4 separate regions of the Homo sapiens genome follow, and regions 2, 3 and 4 are each linked to region 1. Evidence: promoter capture Hi-C in 16 types of primary human blood cells and fetal thymus (Javierre and others, 2016). All regions are on one chromosome and are shown on one strand. Each heading gives the region's core, a stretch centred on a gene start or on the middle of the fragment in contact. The rest is flanking DNA. Distances are from core to core; before and after follow the strand shown. Region 1 holds the start of SLC25A15 (solute carrier family 25 member 15). Region 2 holds the start of LHFPL6 (LHFPL tetraspan subfamily member 6). Region 3 holds the start of VWA8 (von Willebrand factor A domain containing 8). Region 4 overlaps COG6 (component of oligomeric golgi complex 6).

Evidence for each region. Contacts are between HindIII fragments. The CHiCAGO score rates a contact against its expected background, and 5 or more counts as called.
Region 2: a contact is called between the fragment with the promoter of LHFPL6 here and the fragment with the promoter of SLC25A15 in region 1, in 3 of 17 cell types (M1 macrophages, total B cells and activated CD4 T cells). The highest score is 6.4, in M1 macrophages.
Region 3: a contact is called between the fragment with the promoter of VWA8 here and the fragment with the promoter of SLC25A15 in region 1, in 1 of 17 cell types (non-activated CD4 T cells). The highest score is 5.4, in non-activated CD4 T cells.
Region 4: a fragment that was not itself captured here is called in contact with the fragment with the promoter of SLC25A15 in region 1 in 1 of 17 cell types (total B cells); the score reaches 5.0 in total B cells.

The regions. Positions count from the first base shown.
Region 1 is chr13:40,787,980-40,791,352 of GRCh38, forward strand. It overlaps SLC25A15 (solute carrier family 25 member 15), which reads left to right and starts at 1,632. Exons shown (of 7, transcript NM_014252.4): 1 at 1,632-1,684. RefSeq lists silencers at 1,202-1,781, 2,914-3,208. The HindIII fragment of the contact is 15,217 bases long and covers 1-3,373 here.
Region 2 is chr13:39,601,550-39,604,922 of GRCh38, forward strand. It overlaps LHFPL6 (LHFPL tetraspan subfamily member 6), which reads right to left and starts at 1,644. Exons shown (of 4, transcript NM_005780.3): 1 at 1,334-1,644. LOC112268119 (protein SPT2 homolog) reads left to right here. Exons shown (of 4, transcript XM_035861111.2): 2 at 901-991; 3 at 1,095-2,093. RefSeq lists a silencer at 1,539-1,838. The HindIII fragment of the contact is 2,884 bases long and covers 20-2,903 here.
Region 3 is chr13:41,959,231-41,962,603 of GRCh38, forward strand. VWA8 (von Willebrand factor A domain containing 8) reads right to left here and starts at 1,879. Exons shown (of 45, transcript NM_015058.2): 1 at 1,623-1,879. The coding sequence starts at 1,785. VWA8-AS1 (VWA8 antisense RNA 1) reads left to right here and starts at 1,939. Exons shown (of 4, transcript NR_039974.1): 1 at 1,939-3,004. RefSeq lists enhancers at 112-612, 613-1,113, 1,209-1,348 and a silencer at 1,549-1,958. The HindIII fragment of the contact is 5,183 bases long and covers 1-2,391 here.
Region 4 is chr13:39,700,315-39,703,687 of GRCh38, forward strand. All of the region lies in intron 13 of COG6 (component of oligomeric golgi complex 6), which reads left to right. Among named protein-coding and RNA genes, the nearest start is that of MIR4305, 38 kb to the left of the region's middle. The HindIII fragment of the contact is 508 bases long and covers 1,469-1,976 here.

The sequences.
Region 1 (3,373 bases), core at 382-2,881:
TGGCTTGTTTTTGTAACTCGATTACAGTCCAGAAGCCCAAGTTCTAAAGTGCTGATTCTGATGAGTGTCCATGTACCAGGCACTCTGATCCCATCATAGCATCTACTACAGCCTGGGAGGTCTACTCAAGTGTGCATTCATGTTAAGCACTAACACCAATTAAATCACTTAAATAACGTAGGTAATTATCCAATAGCACATCCAGACGTGGTGGCTCACACGTGTAATCCCAGCACTTTGAGAGGCCGAGGCAGGCAGATCACCTGAGGTCAGGAGTTCGAGACCAGCCCGGCCAAGGTGGTGAAACCCTGTCTCTACTAAAAAATACAAAATTAGCTGGGTGTGGTGGCGCATGCCTGTAATCCCAGCTACTTGGGAAGCTAAGGCAGGAGAATCGCTTGAACCCAGGAGGGGGAGGTTGCAGTGAGCTGAGATTGCACCATTGCACTCCAGCTCGGGTGACAGAGTGAGACTCTGTCTCAAAAAAAAAAAGAAAAAAAAAGAAAAAAATAATAATCCAACAGCACATCTAAACAAGGCTTAAAGTTGTAAAATAAAATTACACTGTGTGGAGGGTGTGTGTGTGTGTGTGTGTGTGTGTGTGTGGGTGAGAGAGAGAGAGAGAGAGAGATGAGGTCTCTGTCATCCAGGCTGGAGTGCAACAGTGCCATCATAGCTCACTGCGGCCTCCAATTCCTGGCCTCAAGCGATCCTCCCGCCTTGGCCTCCCAAATAGCTAAGAATAGAGGCATGTGTCACCACACCTTTTTTTTTTTGTCGTTGTTTGTTTGTTTTTATGAAACGGAGTCTCGCTGTGTAGCCCAGGCTGGAGTGTAGTGATGCAATCTTGGCTCACTGCAACCTTCACCTCCCAGATTCAAGCGATTCTCCTGCCTCAGCCTCCCTAGTAGCTGGGGTTACAGACACGCACCACCACGCTGGATAAATTTTTGTAATTTTAGTACACGGGGTTTCACCATGTTGGCCAGGCTGGTCTTGGACTCCTGACCTCAGGTGATCCGCCTACCTCGGCCTCCCACAGTGCTGGGATTACAGGCGTGAGCCACCATGCCCGGCTAATTCCTGTATTTTCATACTTAGTTGTATTTCCTATTAGGGCCTTGGATCCCGAGTATAATTTTGTACTCAAATATAATTTATAAATAAGGCCTTAGCCTCCCAACAAGGTCAAAGTAGCTAAAAAGTAAGTCCTCCCAACCACTGACATTACCAGCCCCCAGCCCCCAGTCCCAGCCCAGCGGGCTAACAAGGGTCCGGCCTCAGAGAGGGTCTCGGGGATCCCAGAGGTGGGAAAGTCTCCGGAGGCGCAGGCCCCGCTCTCCACCTTCACCAGGGTCGGCGGCAGCACCACGCCGGGTCGCGGGCTGGCTGTGCGCGCCGCGGCCCCACGCCCACTTCCGCTTCCCGTGCTGGGGGCGGTGGCAGGGCCGGTGGGCGGTGGCGGCTCCCGGTCTCGGCTCGGGCACGGCCCTGGGCAGGCCGCCCGCCAGCCGCAGGGGCGCTCCTGAGCTTCGCGGGGCCGCAGTCCGGGATGCCTGCGCGAAGGGAGGGGCGAAGGGCCGGCCGTTGCCGACGTGGGTGTTAAGTGGCCGCCCCAGCCGGCGACCCGGAGCCGAGAGCGGGCGGCGGAGCCTGAGCTGGACGCGGCCACGCCGGCGCGGCGGTGAGCGCAGCCCGGTCTGGCGCCTGCAGCTGCGGGGAGCGCGCCAGGCAGAGGGAGCGGGGAGCGGGGCGCGGGGCGGGCCTCGGTGTGCGGGCGGCGTGACCTTCCCGAGCGGCGGGGGAAGCGGCCAGCGTCGCAGCGCACGTGCCGCGGGACTCGGAGAATCTCGGGGTTGTCGGCCTCCTTCCTGCAGTGCCCACCTGGTGGGAACTTTTGTCCTTGTTTGCCCCCAAGTCCTGTCATTTGGCTGCGGGGCTCCGCGCCTCAGGGGCGCCAGTGCTGGGCAGCATGGAGCCGCTTGTGAATGGAGACTTGCTGGCTGCCCAGGAGTGGGCGGCTGGGCAGGGGCGGTGAACGTTTAGGGTCCGGCCAAGAAAGTTGGAAGTCGTCTCCCTGACCTGTTCCTTGCGAGGCCCGGGAGGAGACGCGCCTGGCCGGTCCTTGGCGGCGAAACTGATTTGCATCTCCACGCTTTACCTAAAGCCCGGGCTCTGGGGACTGGATGGCGAGCTGGCCTGCGGCTCCTTTAGCCAGAAGCTGGGATCTTCCCGCAGCAGTTCGTGTTCCCTGGTGGAAAATGCAGCCTCATCTACTGACTCTCCCTTCCAAAAAAAAGTTATTTTCCCCAAGGGTCGAGAAAAGTGGGTGGTCGGCACTGTTGTTCCTCAGTTGCACCCTGGTGTAATTTGAGAGAGGGGTCAAAGGCGCTGAAAAGATTCTTTTTTCTATTCCAAGTGCTACAGCAAGCTCATAAATCAATTTTAATTCATGCTGAACAGTCTTGCCTCCTCCAAGCCCTGTGTCTTCTCCAAGCCAGAGCTACACATAATGTGAATTAGCTGCCCACTCCTTCTGAGTGAATCTGTTAGTACCCATCATCGTTTTCTATCCTAATAATTCTAATGGCTATTTGTAGAATTTATTTGTTTGTTTATTTTTTTGAGACGGAGTTTCGCTCTTGTTGCCCAGGCTGGAGTGCAATGGGGCGATCTCGGCTCACCGCAACCTCCGCCTCCTGGGTTCAAGCTATTCTCCTCCCTCAGCCTCCCGAGTAGCTGGGATTACAAGCATGGCCCACCACGCCAGGCTAATTTTGTATTTTTAATAGAGACGGGGGTTTCTCATGTTGGTCAGGCTGGTCTCGAACTCCCGACCTCAGGTGATCCGCCCGCCTTGGCCTCCCAAAGTGCTGGGATTACAGGCGTGAGCCACTGTGCCTGGCCTATTTGTAGAATTTAATGTGTTTAAGTTTGGCTCACCTAACAGGGTTTAATTCTTAGGGACAGATAGAATGTAATGTGATGTGACTTTCCTTCAAAATTAAGAAGGAAGTGTCTGTGCCAAAAGAAATAAGCGCATTGAGGTTTATCTAGGAGGCCACATTGTACTTGCCTCTGTCTGTCTGCTCAGTTGCCCCCGTTTTTTTCTTTCCCAAAAATATAGGGTTGGGTGTTTTGTGTTGCCTTTGGCCAGGTTGAAATACTCAGATTAACGGTTGGTTTGTAGGCACAGGCCTGAAAAGACAGGACTTTGAACTGAATCCTCTGTCACTGACAGTTGTGTGGCCTTGGAGAAGACCTTGTCTTGCTCCAGGCTTTAGTTTGCCTTCTGGGAAAGGATTAGGACCCTGATAAACTTTTTATTTATTTATTTATTTATTTATTTATTTATTTTATTTTTTATTTTCTA
Region 2 (3,373 bases), core at 394-2,893, 1.2 Mb before region 1:
TTTTGTCAAACCAGCTCAAAGCTTTTTCATGTCTTTATCTTCCGTAAATATTTCCAAATTAACTCTGACAGCTATTTACTTAAAGAAACGCCCGATTTTTATTTGACAGGCCAATGAATTCATTCTATATATTATATACTCACATTAAAAGTAATGTAGCACTTTCACTGGGCAATAAACAATTAAAATAAAATGAACCATGCCATGATTTCCATTTTTTGGCTTGCAAGTTCATGCTCATAGTTTGTTGCAACTTTTCTATGTCCCTTTAAGGGTGCATTAACTCTCTGCATGAGCCAAACAAACTAATTAGGATAATTTTTCACAATTGCAGAGTACCATAAATTTAACAAGCATTATGGTCTGCGGAGGCACCCACAGTACAGAACTATTACCAGACACTCTTTGTACTCATTCAGCAGCATTTCAGAATTTCTTTAGTCTTAACATCTTCTAGTGTAAAAGAATGCCTGTGTATGACTTATTTTGAGTCTGCAGTTTTGATTCATTGATTCCAACAGTTCTATTGCAATCATTTCTCCCACTGAATGATTGTCTAATTTGAACAGCAATCCATACTTCCCAGTATGCTACATCAAACCCCAGTCATCCAAATGGTTCCAGGGGCATCTACTTCCACCCCAGCCTTTCAAAAAGAGTTCCTTAACCATTTCTCACACTTTCCATAAAGAAATGAATACAGAAGCACAGAGCCCATCCACCCTAGAATTCCACCCCCAGGACCCCTAACTCCAGCTTTCAGGGTCCATAGCAAATTTCCCCCTTTCTTCACCTCGCCCCTACCCGTTTTTTTCTCTAACCACCGCCCATTTTCAGTTCTGGATGTCACTCAAACGGGAGGTCGGCTACTACTTTTTTTTCTAATCTTGTCAACTGCAGTCAGGGCTGAAGTTGATCTATCTGGGCCACGAGGCTGGGGAAGACCAGCAGGGGGTGGCCTGCGGGCAGGGGGCCCCCATCTCCAACTGCGGTGAGGCGCCCTCGCCAAGACAAGCCCATATTTAGCCCCCTGCCATTGCCTCACCGAGCCACTCCACCCATGGAGACACACAATGATCCCTCCATTCTAAAAGGGGGCAAGAGGCATTTTCCAGCCGGCTCTGGACGAAGGGAGGGGATAAGGATGGGAAGGCAGCACCCCCCGGAGGCAGACGCCAAGAGCGGACGCGGCTGGCAGGCAGAGCCGACGGATCCGCCGAGCTCAGGAAGTCCGGAGCCCGGGAGCAGCCCAACTCCGGCTCCGGGGCAGAGAGGGAGCCCGGGAGAAAGCAGCGGAGCCCACGCCCACGGGGCAGCCGAGTGATTTACTTACATGGCTGGCGGGCGGCGGCCACCTTCCCTCCCGCGTCCCGGGCGCACACACAACTTGCTGTCTTTCTCGGGCGGGAACATCCACGGGAAACCGGACCGTCCTGCCCTTCTTTGCCTCTGTCCCTAACAGCCGCAGAACCCCGGGGCCCGACCTGGAAGAGCAGGGGTTGGCAGGAGGCGGAGGGTCTCCAGAAGCGGGCTGGCACCAGCGGAGACCCCCACTCCCGGCGAGTCCGCGGCGGCAGCTCTGGCGGAGCGCTGTGGGCGCGCGCGGGCGCCGGGGATCGCACGCAGAGGAGCGGATCTCCCTTTGGCAGGCGAGGCACGCACCGCCTCCTCCCCTCCGCTGCCCGGCCCTCCTCTTTCTCCAGTCCCCTCCCCTCGCGCCCCGGGGAACTCCGCGCAGACAGACCCAGGACGCACCGGGGACGTTCCTGGAGCGCCGGGAAGGGAGTGGGGGGGTGCCCCGCTGTCCGCGCGGGTCCAGGCCCACCCCCGGGGGCAGCTTTCGCGGCTCCTCCCCTAGCCCCGAGCCCCCTCGCGCCCCCTCTCCCTGCGTCTCATTCAAAGCTGAGTGGGGAAGGCAGACAGACCGAGAAGTATGGGAGAAAGTTGCTTGTCTTCCTGGGTGACCCCGAGGAGCCACGGAAGATGACACACTTTGCCTGTTGGGGCTTTTCTGGGTTTACTGTTCGGGTTTATGCTCCTGTTTTCCTGCCGCCGTTAAAAGAAGCCGTAGACGGGAAAGAGGGCCTTAAAGAGTGGGTAAAGTGGCCCCTTTGAGATTTGAGGAGGCTTTTGAGAAGTGGTCACTTTGGAAGGCGGTGAATGAGGCGGTTGTGGACGTGGGAATTAAAGCACAGCAGACAGCCCAAGGCTCATGTATGGCATGGGGGCAGCTGCCTTTCCAGACGAGCCAGGGAGAAGGCAGGGGCGGACCTCTAGCGAGCCTCTCCCAAGAGATACACTCTTTCAAAGGTCTCTCTCTCTCTCTCTTGCTGTTTCTCTGTCTCTCTCTCCCTCCCTCCCTCCCTTTCCCTTCACTTCCTCCCTCCCTTCTCCTCCATCCTGCCTCCTGATCAATTTTGCAATTTATTCCATCGTTTGATTTCTTTTCTGAGAAACAACTGATTTTTAGTTCCCCTCTGGACTTGAGGACTTTTTCCACTTGTCATTAGCACTAACCCCTTTAGAAGTTTAGAGCTAGATTCAGTAGATGACTGTGGGAGTCTCTGCTGAACACAGTATTTTAAGAAGTATGCCATCTGGGAACAGCAGTTTTTGAAGTAGACAGTTTCCCAGATATAGTTTTTGTGAGGTGTCTTTTTAGAGGAGTTGAAAGTAATAAATTGGTAGGTATATATTTCATAGCAGATTTTCAGACTGCACCATTTTAATTAGCCGTGATGGTGTACATTTTTCCCACAACGACAGCTGGAGATATGTGTTCTTTTATTATTATTTTGAAAGACCTTAAGTGATTGATTCCAAGCCTTTTGAGGTCACAGGTCTTTTAAAAAATACGATGAAACTGATAAGCCTTCCAGAAAAAAAAATGCGCGGACATATAAAGCTTTACCACAGCGATTCTGAAGAAGGAAAGGGATATTTGGCAAGGTCTGAAGATAATTTTGATTATCATAACCCATGAATGGGGAGTATTACTGGCATCTAGTTGGTAAAGACCCGAGATTCTGCTAAATACAGTGCACAGGACAGTCCCCAAAATTACCTGGGCCAAAATGTCAATCATTTGAATGAAATATCAGGTGGTTTCCCATTCCCTTAAAGCCCATCCATGAATCCCATATTCAGAATCCCCAATTTAAGTGTTTTTGTTTTTGGTGTTGTTGTTGAGTTTAAGTTGTTTTAACTCTTCTCTTACAAATCACCGGTTACTGGTTTCAGTGACAGCATAAGAATGATTGGTCTGACTTCCAGTTAGGTACCACACCCTTAGTTATTACACAGAGCCTTCATACCTATATAATATGATGGTGGAAGATATGATCATAAAAGACAAAAGAATAATAGTGAGAAT
Region 3 (3,373 bases), core at 629-3,128, 1.2 Mb after region 1:
TATTCTTCTTATCCTTTTACAGTTAAGAAAACTAGGACACAAAGTTAAGTAACCTACCCTCAACGACCCATGGTTAGATAGTGGATAAGTGGATTCCAACCCAAATTGTTTAACTCCAAAACCCAACCTATAGTTTATGCTATACTTCCACCTTTGACCTCTGCCTTCTAGGGCAAAGGAGCAAAAAACAAATAAAGAACACACAAAAAATGTAAAAAACAAATGAATAAACAGCCCAGAAGTGAGAGTAATTGAGAAAAAGCAAAAAAAAAAAAAAAAACAAAAAGTAAAATTTGAAATTGCAACACTATGGTGGGGGACGGGGGTGGTGTATGTCTTCAATGAATAAAACGAAATACGTGGGACCTAAATATGCTTTTTTTTTTTTTTTTTTTGAGATGGAGTCTTGCTCTGTCGCCCAGGCCGGAGTGCAGTGGCTCCGGTCACTCCAAGCTCCGCCTCCCGGGTTCACGCCATTCTTCTGCCTCAGCCTCCGGAGTAGCTGGGATTACTGGCGCCCGCCACCACGCCCGGCTAATTTTTCTGTATTTTCTTTTTAGTAGACACGGGGGTTTCACCGTGTTAGCCAGGATGGTCTCGATCTCCTGACCCCGTGATCCGCCCGCCTCAGCCTCCCAAAGTGCTGGGATTACAGGCGTGAGCCACCGCGCCCGGCCCATATGCTCATTTCTTAGCAAGGAAAACTGGGGGTTGCGGGGAAAATGCAAGAGGACAACGAAACCTACAATTTCATAGTGAAAACCTGTTATTCCAAGCAGCACTGACATTGACAAAATCTTGTCTGGAATCACTTCACCATTCAAGGGTAGCAACAACAGATATCCTTTCCTTAACCATCACAGTAACTCTAACTCCACCAACACACAAGAAAAAGAATTCCTAAAACCAGCTCAAGTAGAGCCAAAAAATACTGAGCTTAGAAATCAAAGCATGTGATTCTAGCATAGTAATTAGTTGTGTGTTCTCCAGCGAATCACTTTTCCCTTCTGGGTTTCAATTACCTCATTTGTAGAGGCAAGTGTTTTAACTAAATTAAGGTGTAACTGTCAGCTCTAAGAATTACGTGAAACTTTAAGGAAAACTCCTGTAAAACTTGGAAAGGCTCGGGGATGCATTTAAAACACCGTGAACTATGGGTTCTTTGGCAAGAATGTTCCCTTCTAAGCCGCCACAAGCCCTGGCTAGAACATGACACAGACCGGCTTCCAGGCCCTTGAGGCTCAGAGAGCAAGGTCAAATCCAGCTTTCAATAATTCCATAGGGCTGAGGCATTAACCTCTACGAGTATTATAACCTAAGTCAGAATTCTGGGGGTAAAGGCAGCGGCAGGGGAAGGAGAAATCACTCTTCTAGGTCATCAGAAACCTTAGTCCAGACCCCTCGGGTTGCAGAATCAGGCACAGAGAGGGCGAGCGCCTTGCCCCCACGTTACACAGCAGTTAGCGCCGAGGTCGGGACTAGAACCTCAATCTTTCAGCTCCCCGCTCGGCAAACGGTCCTTCCAAGCGCAGCGAAGCAACAGAGAGGAGGGGCGGGGGCGCGCGGGGACCCGGCACGGAGCGCAGGGGCACCAGGGAGGACAGGGGCGCACCCCGAGTTACCTGTGTCGGCCCCCGAGCCGGCGTGCAACAGTCTGACCTCCGGCCGCTGCCTGTCGCCACCCGGCCTGCGCTGCACCACCTGCCGCAGGAGCAGCCGCATGCGCCGCGAGGCCGGGCCGCCGTGGCCTCCGGGTGCCCCGAGGAGTAGAAGCCGGGATTGCATGGCGCCGGGGGGGCTGTCGGGGACGGCGAGGGGGCTCGGGGATCGAGCGGCGTCCCGTGCAGGCACCGTGAGGCAGCGCGGAGAAGGGGACAGGAAGCGGCACCTAGCCGAGTCCGCCGGAAACTCCTTCCCCCGCGGCGCGGCCGGCTCAGTAGACTCAGCCCGGCCCTACCCGGCCCTGCATGGCCCAGACGGGCGGAAAGAGCCTGCGGAGCTCCAGCCCAAAGAGCCGGCACCGTCCCGGGACTGCCCGCACCGCGGGGGTGCTCCGAGCTGCGGCGCTGGGCTCTGGCAAGCGCCTCGCAGTCCGTGAGACTGTCTGTTCACCTGGATGCACCAGGCCTTCACCCGCCGTTTCCCTGCGATCCCACAGAATCTCAGGAGTTCAGTAAATGCCAAGGGTTTTAGGAGCATTTGTCGGTGTGACTCTTCAGATGCTTGCCCCAAGTCTTCGTTTCTTAGTTAAAGGCCCAGTAAGTATAGGGAGCTTTCCCTGTATTCGGCTTCAGATTTCGGAAATGGAGAAAACATGCACAAGATGATGGGAACTTTCACAACTGTCTTGATTCATTGTAACCACACTAGTGTTTCCAAACCGTACGTGAAAGCTTTACCCTTTGTCCTTTTGGTGGTGGTTGTTTGTTTCTGTGTTTTATTACCGCTTCCTAAATTCTAAGGAAAAAATTCACATCTTAGTGATAGATGGAAATTGCTTAAATATCAGAAAGGATCCAGATCAAGCACTTTTCTAGTCATGCTGTAATACAAAAGTTATATAAAGATGATTTATGTCTTTAGTAAAGGAAAAAGTAGGACACTGGCTAAGGCTGCCTCCCTCTTGTACATTCCAACATCGGAAATGGTCCTACCACAAAGCAAACTAAGCCTAATGTAATTAGACTGCATCCCCAAAATGTCACAGTGAATTGACTAAGGCAAAATATTTGAGACAAGTTATACAAGCAAACATCAAAAAGAAGGCAGAAGACCTCACTTTCAGCTAAAGACCTTGCTAATTCTAGAGCTGCCACTGTCTAAATACATAGCACCTACCCTGCGCCTGACCCTGTGATGAGTGCTGAGAAGAGAGTGTTAGAGTGGAGACTGTAAAAGTCAAACAAGGCTAGGTAAGGAAGGCTTTGGGCATCCAGCGGAAGAACTTGAGGAATGAAGGCTGAACCAGGCTTCTAACCTAGATGAGGAGACAGTGAAAATAAAGGTAATAAGTAGTTACACAATATATTATGACTTCGTTTCATGTGTATCTTCTCATTTAATCCTCATAGCAACCCTAAGACATAAATTTAGGATGTAAGCTTATAAAATGCTTTTCCTACTTTGAGCACATTGTATGTATCAAGATTTTAATGAATTATCCCATTTCACATAAAAATGCTTTGAGGTACTATTATTATCCTCCGTTTTACAGATGAAGAAACTGAGGCTAGAAGAATTGAATACCTTGGTCAAGATATCTCCATTTAATCTCGCTGGAACTCAGTAGACACCTGAAAGAATGGGAGAACAACCTAAGGCAATTTTGCAAAGTGGTTGATATAAGCACTAAGAGCTCTTGGAGTTAAGACAA
Region 4 (3,373 bases), core at 473-2,972, 1.1 Mb before region 1:
ATGGTATAAAATAGTCAGTAGCAATTTAGTCCAGAATACGTGGTCAATCTTCACTTTCCTAAGTTCAGTCTTCACTTTCCTAAGCCTTAATAGGAGTCTACTTCCTGACCCACATGCATGACTCAGATTCATTTGGAAAAGCAACATGAATTTGTGGAGCTGGAATATCTACCTTTATTTTTCTTGCCTTGTGTATTTCTGTTTGCATCAACAGTTTACTAACAATCATTTCTGGTTATATTTGTTATTATGAGTTCTTATTTAGACAGAACTCTTCTAAAATAATTTATACATGATACACAAACATTAAACATGAACAAATATGTGCTAGCTGTTGAGAGTACAAGGATGAACACTCAACATCTGTTGGCCTCATTAAGGTTGCTTTTCCTTTAGTGGAAAATGACCAAATAAGTCTGGTTATTATAGAATTCTATGATTTATGAAAGACATGTGCCTAGGGTATATGCTAGCACCAAAGGAGGAGTATATTTAGCAAACTTATCTGTACTCCTTTACAGAGAGGAAGCTTTCCATAGAGAGATGTAATGGAGTTGAACTTTGAAGAACAGGTAGGCTTTAGATAGGTGAGGAAAGGAGTGCATAGAGGTCATCTTAAATAGAAGAAAGAAATAGAATATGCTAGAACATGAGTATGAGTTACCTATAAAAGAATTTTTCATTTATTAAAAAATATCACTTGTAAAGTGATGTGTTTTATATATATAAGTGGGGAGGCTAGGTTGGAAATAGGAAAATTAAAGGAGTATTGAAACTGTTTTTATTCATACATGATCTAAGGGAAAGACTCTGGGAATAGGCAAGAGGGGACAGATTCATGAAGGGTAAAGGTAAAATCTTCAAAACTTGATGACTGAATGTGGGTTAGTGAGAGGGAGTCATCTAGAATAATTCCTAGGCTAATCACAAATATCTAGAATGCAGAAAGAGGGTACAATTTGGGAGATAAAGATGGTATCATCTAAGTTAGATAAGTTGAGTTTGAGGTGCCTATGAGAGATCCCTCTGGAATTGGTCTAATCTAAAAGGGAGTGATACATTTGGATTTAGAGAGTTTTACATATAAGAGATAGTTGAATTCATGGGTTTGGATGAAGTCACTAGGAATAATTTTTTTTATGAGTAGAGCTACCAGGACACAGTCTTGGGAAACACTGACGTTTAAGAGAAGGAAAAACGTCAACAGTATGATGCTGAGAGAGGATGGCCAGAGAGGCAGGACAAAAATTAGGATAAGGTTTTATCAGAAAAGCCAAGAGAAGACAGTTTCTAGAAGGAGGGCATGGTTAATAATGACAGATGCTTTTAAAGAGTTCAAGTAGGAGGCTTGTTATCTTTGGCAATATATATGTGATAGGTGACCTAAATGGGCAATTTTAGTCCTGTGGTGGAGATAGGAGCCAGGTTGTAGTACGTAGAAAAGTTCATGGGTAAGCATATTACCCAAAGCTTTACCAATTAGAAAACATATGGGCCTCAAGACTGAAAATAGATGCATTAGGCGTTTGTATTAAAAAATTTGAAACAGAGCAATAAAATGAAGATATATGGAAAGGATGGAATTAAATTTCCGTGACAAATTAGAAAACAAAAGCAGAATTATTTGTTGAAAAGATAAACAAAATTGACAAACTTCTAGCAAGTCTAATCAAGAAAAAAAGAAAATTAGAAGTTTTTAGAAATTAGAGACAATCCACAGATGAGAATTAAAACTTAGAGAGTACCATGTGCAGTTTTGTGCTAATCATCTGAAAATCAGAATAAGATGAATGCTTTTTAAGGTGACATAAATTGGTAAAATGTGAGTCAAAAGGAAGTGGAAAGTGTGAATATACCTAAGGAAGGAAGAAAAGTTATTAAAGAACGTGTTGCCAGGCCTAGTTCAGATTATATAGAGAACTTCATTCATCCTTAGGAGGAACAGATAATTCTCCAGAACATGAAAAAATATGGAAAGCTTCCCAGTTTGTTTTAGGTAGTATAACACCGACATAAAACCTTTTAAAGATAGTCAGTAGTGGAAACCATAGATTAGTCACTTTTTAAGTTTTAAAACTTCAAAATTCAGCATTTATATATTAAAACCAAGAATGGTTTATTACATGAATATAAGAATGTTTCAGTGTTAGGAAATATACTAAATGAGTATATAAAATAAATTTTATATTCTCATATTTGATCACATTGGGGAAAATCTTAATATTAAAACAAGTCATTGATGAATACTTCCTTAACCATATAAAGAGAGATAAAACTAACAGCCAACATCATAATTAATATTGACACACTAGTGGTTCTTCTATTTAAGTGAAGAACAAGAATGCTTGCCAATACTTTTAAATAATAACCACGGTAGAAAGATGAGATAAAGAAATGAATTGTAAATATTTTAAAGGAGGAGACATTAGATTATTTATGGATGTTATGATAGTCTATTTTGAAGACCTAGGAGAATCAACTAAAAAGCTATACAACCAGAAAATGAATTCTAGTGAAGTCGTTGGTGAAAAGATCAATATACAAATGTAATTAATTTTCTTATATACCAGCTCATGAGGTGCTCAATAAATACTGGTAACATGAATGGTTCAGTTCATTTTCTGCTGGCCTATATTCCATCACTATCTTGCCATTAGCTTTAAATCTCTTGCACCCTTGCCATTTTACCACATTCACTTTGCAAAACCACCTTGAGTTAATTCAATTTTTCAATTTTTCCTGAGCTCTGCTAAAGAAAATTACATCATACAGACAGGAATCACTAAAAATTGTCTCCAACATCAGGAAAGCCCCCCAGGAGGTCCAGCAAATACTGATTGTCCTTTGGCAGCCACTCACATTTACCTCACTTATTTTCACCCATTTCCTCAAATCTACCATACTACCTCCTACTGAAAAAGTGCCAACTCTTGCTAAAACTGGATAATGGACATTAAAAAAAAATCTTTACCAACATGACGAGCAAAAGCGACATTTTGTTGTTTTTCTCATTTGGATTTCTGTGATTCTAGTGAGAATGAACATTTTAAGATATGTTTTTGGCTGTTTGTGAATTGCTTGTTCAAGTCCTTTGCCATTTTCCTATTGGGTTGTCTTGTTCATTTCTGATATTCTTTATGCATTAAGAATATTAACTCCATCATATATATTACAGACATTTTCTCCACGTTATCATTTGCCTTTAAAATTTGCCTGTAGTATTTTCTGACACATCAACTTTTAATTTTTTTATAGTTCAATAGAACTTTTTTTATAGTTTTTTTCCCTTGGGAGCATTCCATGCTTGAAAGTATTCCCACAAGAAAAAACATTTAGAATTTAATATATAATAAAGATAGCATCTATTAGTGGG